3 separate regions of the Homo sapiens genome follow, and all the other regions are linked to region 2. Evidence: promoter capture Hi-C in 16 types of primary human blood cells and fetal thymus (Javierre and others, 2016). All regions are on one chromosome and are shown on one strand. The core of a region is centred on a gene start or on the middle of the fragment in contact, and the rest is flanking DNA. Distances in the headings are between cores, read along the strand shown.

What was found. The method cuts DNA at HindIII sites, captures the fragments that hold promoters and counts their contacts. A CHiCAGO score of 5 or more calls a contact.
Region 1: a contact is called between a fragment that was not itself captured here and the fragment with the promoter of MBOAT1 in region 2, in 3 of 17 cell types (neutrophils, erythroblasts and non-activated CD4 T cells). The highest score is 7.2, in neutrophils.
Region 3: a fragment that was not itself captured here is called in contact with the fragment with the promoter of MBOAT1 in region 2 in 1 of 17 cell types (M0 macrophages); the score reaches 5.2 in M0 macrophages.

The regions. Positions count from the first base shown.
Region 1 is chr6:20,467,473-20,470,172 of GRCh38, reverse strand. The region is part of intron 1 of E2F3 (E2F transcription factor 3); the gene reads right to left. Among named protein-coding and RNA genes, the nearest start is that of E2F3-IT1, 31 kb to the right of the region's middle. RefSeq lists an enhancer at 2,610-2,700. The HindIII fragment of the contact is 579 bases long and covers 1,032-1,610 here.
Region 2 is chr6:20,211,079-20,213,778 of GRCh38, reverse strand. It overlaps MBOAT1 (membrane bound glycerophospholipid O-acyltransferase 1), which reads left to right and starts at 1,310. Exons shown (of 13, transcript NM_001080480.3): 1 at 1,310-1,643. The coding sequence starts at 1,545. RefSeq lists an enhancer at 282-782 and a silencer at 965-1,504. The HindIII fragment of the contact is 5,898 bases long and covers 1-2,700 here.
Region 3 is chr6:20,493,370-20,496,069 of GRCh38, reverse strand. It overlaps E2F3 (E2F transcription factor 3), which reads right to left. Exons shown (of 7, transcript NM_001949.5): 7 at 2,356-2,700. Among named protein-coding and RNA genes, the nearest start is that of CDKAL1, 40 kb to the left of the region's middle. The HindIII fragment of the contact is 1,213 bases long and covers 703-1,915 here.

The sequences.
Region 1 (2,700 bases), core at 72-2,571, 260 kb before region 2:
TGTTAAGAGGTGACAGCTCTTGAGCTGTGTTATGCAGATAAGGGAGTGAAGTCAGAGGAGTTGAATGGGCTGTCCAAATAAGAACAGAAGCAGAGATTTTGAAAAGTCCTGGTTCGGAGGTGCTTGTGAGTAGTGAGGGGCTTTGAGTACAGAATGATGAGGAAGGGGGACAGCTTATGGTCCCTTTCATGCCAAGCTAAATGCACTCCTAGTGTCAACCTGTCATTGACGAGGTTACCTAAGATGAAGGGCTCCAAAGTCTTCTCCAGCTTTTTACAGTGAGAGGTAAGTGCAGAATCTAATGAGAGTAGCATCCTCTGTGAGCCGCTGGGTGAGAAGCCTAATCACAAACCAGACTATCTCAGAGAAGAATAACTGGTGAACTGAACAGGTGTGCAGAAAACTCCAACCGTATCCCCATCCTTTCTCACTTGGATTACTAGAATGGACTCCAAAGTTGGTCATTTTTCTTCTTTTGATTTCTAAACTAGGATATTTTAATTTCACTATAACCTGTATTTGTGGACTAGTTTGGGGATCTAACCACATATATATGAATGTTTCTAAAGGAAAAGCAATCTCACTGACTTAGAACTTTTGGAATAAAAGCCATTTAACCTATGAACTGGTGACTGCGGTCCCTCCTATAGAAACTTATTTTGTTTTTAAGAATAATTTAAGACAATTAAAAAACAAATAGATGCACATGGTTTTTCAAAACCCACTAGCTCAGAGAGCCTATAATGGCTACCTTGCTGGGGGAACCACCTTTACTATTTCTCCTGGTGGTCACCTCTGTATCTCTAAGTGATATGCTCACACAGCTATTTCTGGTTTAGCCATTTTAGTTCTAATGTACTGACATCCTTCAATGATACGATACCCATCTCACTTCTTCCATTTCCCCCCAATAGTTACATAATTAGTTTTGGTTAAATAAAAAACCAGTGCTATACATCATGACTGTATAAACAGTATTCACTGCAGTATCAAATAATATACTGAGACTATATATCCTTTCTTGTAAAGCTTGTTTGTTTTCTTTGGAGTTTCCAATTGTCTTTCTAGCTCGTTGGCACCATTTGCCCTCACCAAATCCTCAAATTTTTTCCAACTCTCCATCATATCAGATATTCTACCAAATCTCCACTTTTCCTCCTGCCTGAAGCTCTCTGGCCTCCTGATATCCAGACCTGAGACTAGCTAGGGGTTCTCCAGGTCTGCTGCATGGCTGTCATTCTGCAGTTTTCCTTCACTGCATACACTGTGCTGATGCCCGAGGTGAACATCTGTCACTTGATTTGAGTGCCCAGCACCTGAACTTTCTCTCCTATGTTTAGAAAACCCCTCACTTTATCAGTCTTGGTGTAAGGTAGGCCCACTTACTATAGAAGATGAAGTATCTTTTTGTGTGCTGATGATTTGAATGAAGGCCGGCTGCCCTTAGGTGGCTTCAGGATGGACAATGGTCACTGGAAAAACCAAGGCAGGATCAGAGGGTCAGAACTTTCAGACCCATCTCTAAACCTCCAAGGAGAGGAGAGGGGCTGAAGGTTAAGTTGATCCCCAATGGCCAGTGATTTAATCAATCATGCCAACATAATGAAGCTTCCCAAAAAACCCAAGAGGACAGGGTACGGAGAGCTTCCAGGTAGCTGAACACAAGGAGGTTCCTGGAGGGTGACGCATGCAAGGAGGTCATGGAAGCTGCGTGCTCCTTCTCACATGCCTTGCCCTATGCACCTCTTCATCTGCATCCTCTGTGATATCGTTTATAATAAACCAGTAAACCTCAATGTTTCCTGAGTTCTGTGAGCTGCTCTAGCAAATTAACTGAATCTGAGGAATGGGCCGCGGGAACCCCGATTTACAGCAGGTTGGCCAGAGGCACAGGTAAAACAACCTGGGGCTTGCAACTGGCATCAGAAGTTGGGGGTGGTCTTGTGAGACTGAACCCTCAATCTGTGTGATGTGACACTTCTCTGGGTAGATGGTGTCAGAATTGAATTGGAGGACGCCCAGCTAGTGTCCGCTGCAGAATGAATTGCTTGCTTGATGCCTGGGGAAACCCCCCACACATCTGGTGTCACAACTGTAATATGCGAAAATAGTGGGAGAAACCGAGTTTGTTCATTCCTCAGCATTTTCAGAATTGGTGTCAGAATCGGGACTGCTAGAACATCCCTAGCTCATGTTTGGGAAGAAAACAGATAAAGGGGTTGGGGGGTGAGAAACCTTTGATTCCTGGGTGCCCATGTGGTCACCCATGGTATGGAGTGGCAGCTCCATACCCATGGTATGGAGTGGCATCAGTCACTAAAGGTAAAAGTTACCAATGGAATTTAGAGGTGGATCAATCTAACTCCCTGGAAGGTGGTTTGCTGAATGCATGAAGAAATGCGAACTAATAAGAAAAAAACAAAATATGCAACCCTTTGGTTATTGTTATCTGTAATAGCTAGAATGAAAGTAAAAAGAAAGTGCTGGGCCAAACCTCGATGCCAGACCAAGTTCAGATTTCAGTCAATCTATGCTTCAGCCAGTAGACTCACAGAACCTCGCTCCCACAAGGGAAAAATTATGCAGCGACATCAGAAAGCACCCCTAAGGACTTTGGGCACCAAGAAGGCAGTGTCAGGAAAGGGCAAAATCAAGAAGCCATTGAAAGCAGAGGGTATAGTGTGAAGGAATTGTTTCATT
Region 2 (2,700 bases), core at 61-2,560:
ATGCTGGTCATTTTCCAGGACTCTATGATATTAAATGAACCTATCTAGCCTAGTGATCCTCAAGTATATGCCTGTGTGCGTGTGTGCATGTGTCTGTCTGTCTGTAGTGTGGGTTTGCTTGTGAGTGGTAGAGATTATCATCTGGTGGTGACATCTCCATTCGGTTAGCTTGTGGGAGTGGTGGTACAGACTTTTTTTTTTCCTCCTCCACAGGGGACATAGGTTGAGAAACTCTGGCCTGGCAATTTAATGCTCAGTGCAGTTTGATGGTGATAAAACTCCTGAAGAAGGCAAGAGTGAGGCCTGAGTCTTGGAGAGTAAGTTGTTGCCAGTGCCTGACAGGCCTTCGGTTTAATTTGAAGCTGGAGGCCACATTGATAAAGTCGGCCCCGAAAGTCATTGCCTGTCTGATCGAATGCCGGTTTACCCAGCGGAGGCTGGGGGCCACGTGAGCTCACTTTCTTTGGTTTTCTACCCAGCAGCCCAGAATATTACCTTCCTGAAACCCTTTTTCATCAGCTAGCGATTCCTGAAAAGGATCTTCAAGATTTTTATGTTTCTCAGAACCTAGCAATAACTTGGAAAAGTTTTCCAAGTAACATTGATGTGTGGGTGTTCGGGGGCAGACAAGTTAAGGAGCAAGGCACCCTTTTTGAGGACCCGTGGCATGCAAATGACTTATCAGAATGCACATAGTATGACAGTAAACACCGTTTCTTACAGAGGTGAAATAACTCTCACTCCACAGAGACGGAAGTGACCCGAAGCTAGCAGTCCCCTGTATTTGCTTGTGTGACACCGAACATGTCAGATCAGGGTGTAGGAAACTATGCCTAGCGCAGAGGAGGGTAAAGGAAGTAGGGAGTCTGGTGGCTGCGGCGCTCCAGCTTCCAGCCACCGGCAGAGGAACCCTCTACGGCTTGAAAGGGAAACGCAGCCACTCAGCCGCTTCGACTGCGGCGGCGAAACCAAAACAGGGTGGGGCGGGGTGGGTGGTGCTCTCTAGTGGAAGGCGCCCGCTGGGTGAGGTCGTTTTGTCTGGCGGGGGGCTAGGACGGTCAGCCCGGGAGGAGGAAAGGCGCGTCCCGCCTCCAGCTGCAGGGCCAGGCGGCGGCGCCCGCTGGCGTCGCTTTCCCTCTCCCGGTCGGCCTCGGTGCAGGCCAGGCTGGGCGGGCCGGGCGGCGCTTGGGGGCCGGGCTCGGAGTCCCCACTTTTCCTCCCTCCTTCCCTCCTCTCGGGGCCGTCCCGAGCGGCCGGGCCAATGGGCGCGGAGAGGAAGGGAGCGGGAAGCGGGGCGCCTTGGGCCCGGCCCTCCTACGGCGCCCGTGGCTGCAGCGCCAGCGCCAAAGCCAAGTTTGCGCCTCGAGAGTTTGCGCCTCGAGAGTTTGCGCCGGTTCGCATTCCCCGGCCTCCCGTTCGCTCCCCCGCGAACCAGGCGGCCGTGCGCCTCTCGGGGCAACCACCCAAGAGCACCCGGGCGGGAGGACGCCGAGCAGGGGGTGTTGCGGGCTGGGACAGGGGCAGCCACCTCCCGAAGATGCAGGATGGCAGCAGAGCCGCAGCCGTCCAGCCTTTCCTACCGCACCACGGGCTCCACCTACCTGCACCCGCTCAGCGAGCTCCTGGGCATCCCGCTGGACCAGGTAACTGCAGGCCGGGAGCGCAGCGACCCCAGCTCCCCAGCGATCGCGTGCACGGGGCGGGCGAAAGTGTTAGCCACCGTCCCTCCGCCTCCATGGCGTATTTTACAGCCACACACTAGACAGTTGGTTTTTGTGTGTGTGTGTGTGTGTGTGTGTGTGTGTGTGTTTTCCCTTCTTGAGTTGGTGTTAGTGTTTTTCTCCTTGTAAGTGTGAAAAAATATTGGTACAGCCTGCGCGGCAAGTTCTACTGAACTTTTTTTTCTTTAAGTTTGGGATTGCCTCGTTTCCTGTAATCAAGTTCTGAAGTAGTCTGATACATGAAACCAGTGTTTCTTTCATCAGTGTCCTCAAGTCGTTATTGTTTTTAATTTAGATGACCCTACTTAAAAAACAAGCGCGATGAATCTGTAGACGGTAGTCTATAGATTTTGAATGCAGGACCTGGGTTTTAGACTTCTGAGGCGAGGCTTGTTCAGGGGTGACAGTTATTTTGTACCGTGTGTGATGCGGGACACACAAGGACACTTTGGTTTTCCCAGGGTTCGGTTGGCTCATATGCCTGGGGCTGGAGCTTCTGAGTAGGACAGGTTAGGGGGAGGAGAGGGGCCCCAGTGAAGTTATTTGAACTGTCCAGGAATTATCTACAACCATTAAAATTAAAAATGGCAACAACAGTGATTCCTGGCAAGAAACCTTCCTGAAGATGAAGCCCGTCTTACTCATTTCCTTGTCTCTTCAGGTGCTGCAGGCTAGATCTGCGGGATACTTAGTAGTGACCCAATCAGTAAATGTTGATTTAAATAGAATTGGGCAGGGCATGCTGGGGGAGGACCCACTGCGCTCCTGTTTTGTTTCATGCTTTTTTGCCTGGTTTTCTTCCCCTTCCTCTCACCAGTGCTCCTTTTCCTTTCCTTTTAACAAGAGCACACCTGCTGCCCTTTGCGCACACCCCTTCAGCAATGAGAAAGTGAGACCTGGACATTTGCCTTATTCGGGTCCTGTTTACTGAGCCACCCTCATACCTGGCTCACTCTGAGGACCTGACTGAGAACTCCAC
Region 3 (2,700 bases), core at 60-2,559, 280 kb before region 2:
GCAAAAAAGCAGAAAACAGGGACTGCAAGGTGTCGGGGATAGGGAGTAACTAATTTATGGACACAGGTTTCCTTTTGGAGTGATGAAAATGTCTTCTGGAACTAGACAGAAGTGATGGTTATACAGCACTGTGAATGTTATCAAATGTTACTAATGATAAATTTTGTTACGAGAATTATACCACATCAAATATATAGTACCTGACATACAAGCATTCTAAAAACTTTACATTTTTTTAATAGCAAAATGAGCAAAACTATCTCTCAAACAGGAAATCACCTAAGTATATTATTAAATACATTTTTAGGCCAGGCGTGATGGCTCACCCCTGTAATCCCAGCACTTTCGGAGGCCGAGGAGGGTGAATCACTTGAGGTCAGGAGCTCAAGACCAACTTGGCCAAGATAGTGAAACCCCGTCTCTACTAAAAATACAAAAATTAGCTGGGCATGGTGGCAGGCACCTGTAATCCCAGCTACTTGGGAGGCTGAGGCATGAGAATTGCCTGAACCTGGGAGGCAGAGGCTGCAGTGAGCCAAGATCACTCCACTCCACTCCAGCCTGGGCAGCAGAGTGAGACTCATCTCAAAAAAAAAAAAAAATTTTTTTTTTAAATCACTGGAATGGTATGCAGCCTTTGAAGAGCATGAACACGATCTACAAGTACTCACATGGAAAAATGTGACATAGCAATAAAAAGCTTCAGATCAGCATATATGGTATGACTTATGTTAAGTCATGTTAAAACACACATGCTTACTGTAATCCCAGTACTTTTGGGGGCTGATGGGGGAGGATTGCTTAAGGACAGGAGTTTGAGGCCAGCCTGGGCAACATTACAAGACCCCATCTCCACAAAAATAATAAAAAAAAAAATAGCCAGGCTTGGTGGTGCACGCCTACTATTCCCACCTACTCAGGAGACTGAGGCGGGAAGGACCACCAGAGCCCAGGAGTCTGAGGCTGCAGTGAGCCATGATGGTGCCACTGTACTCAAGCCTGGGCAACAGAGTGAGATCCTGTCTCTAAACAAAAACAAAAACAAAAAACAAAAAACAAAACAAAATAGGTCGGGCTTGGTGGCTCACCCCTATAATCCCACCACTTTGGGAGGCCAAGGCGGGTGGATCACCTGAGGTCCAGAGTTCGAGACCAGCCTGGCCAACATGGTGAAACTCCGTCTCTACTAAAAATACAAAATTAGCTGGGCGTGGTGGTGCATGCCTGTAATCCCAGCTACTCGGGAGGCTGAGGCAAGAGAATCACTTGAACCCAGGAGGCGGAGGTTGCAGTGAGCTGAGATTGCACCACTGCACTGCAGCCTGGGCGACAGAGCAAGGCTCTGTCTCATACAAATAAATAAATACAAACAAAATAAAATAAAATACACATGTTCATGCACAGATATGTGCCTAGAAAATGACTGGAAGGATAATACAAGAAAAATGCGAACAGTGGTTATCTCTGGCATGAATAGCATAGAGGGGCAGGTAACGTCCCCCCCTGCCCTTTTTTTTTAAACTTCATACCCTTTTATATTGATTTTGTGTGTGTACAATATATAGCACTTTGAGGTTTTTCAATGATAAGTTCAGAGTTAACAGTGTGACATGGCAGTCAAAAAATTCAAATCTGCTCCTAGATGGCATTACTAGAAATACACAATCTAGAACATGGGAGGTAATTACCAGATTTCAGAATTAAAATGTATTGGCTTTATAACCCTTACGAGGAGTCAAATTTGTCACTTTCTCAGTGTAACAATTACTCAGTGTCCGAGTGGTTTCTGCACATGGTCAAAGGGACAAGGTAAGTTCTACTTCACAGGGTGCAGAGCACACCGGAAGTGGTCACCAAATATTTGCTGAGTGTTCTGAGTCCCAAATACCGTCTAAGGCAAACGATGTTTTAAGCTTTTGTTTAGCCTTTCTCCTTAACTTGTTTAAGAATGTTTTAAAAAATTCAATTAATAGGCTGGGCGCGGTGGCTCATGCCTGTAATCCCAGCACTTTGGGAGGCCGAGGCAGGCGGATCACTTGAGGTCAGGAGTTCGAGACCAGCCTGGCCAACATGGTGAAACTCCGTCTCTACTCAAAATACAAAAATTAGCCAGTCGTGGTGGCGGGTGTCTGTAGTCCCAGCTACTCAGGAGGCTGAGGCAGGTGAATCACTTGATCCCGGGAGGTGGAGGTTGCAGTGAACCAAGATTGTGCCACTGCACTCCAGCCTGGGTGAGAGTGATTGACTCTGCCTCAAAAAACAAAACAAAAAAAAAAAAAAGAAAAAGAAAATGAAAAAAATTCAATTAATAGAGGAGCACAAGATAATATTAAAGAAAACCCATCCACAAGCCTGAACTCTTAAAAAAAATCATTTTATTGATCCTTTACCATACAAAATTTATTCAAATTACACCCATTTGAAGTGGTAAGATCACAGCTAGAGAACAGGTCACCCTGTAACAAATCTATTTACAAAATCCATCATAAAAGCTTTTTTTTGTTTTTTTTTACATTATATTACATATTTTCTTTTTTAAACTAGCATACAACACAAAGCTAAACTGATTAGTAGTTTGCCTACTCCCAATTTTGGGAGAAATACTTCCTTTTTACAAAATCACGTACCCCGTAGGAAAAGAAATTCCCACACCCTGACAATTGCCACCCGACTTACTCTGCAAGCCATCTTCCTTCATAT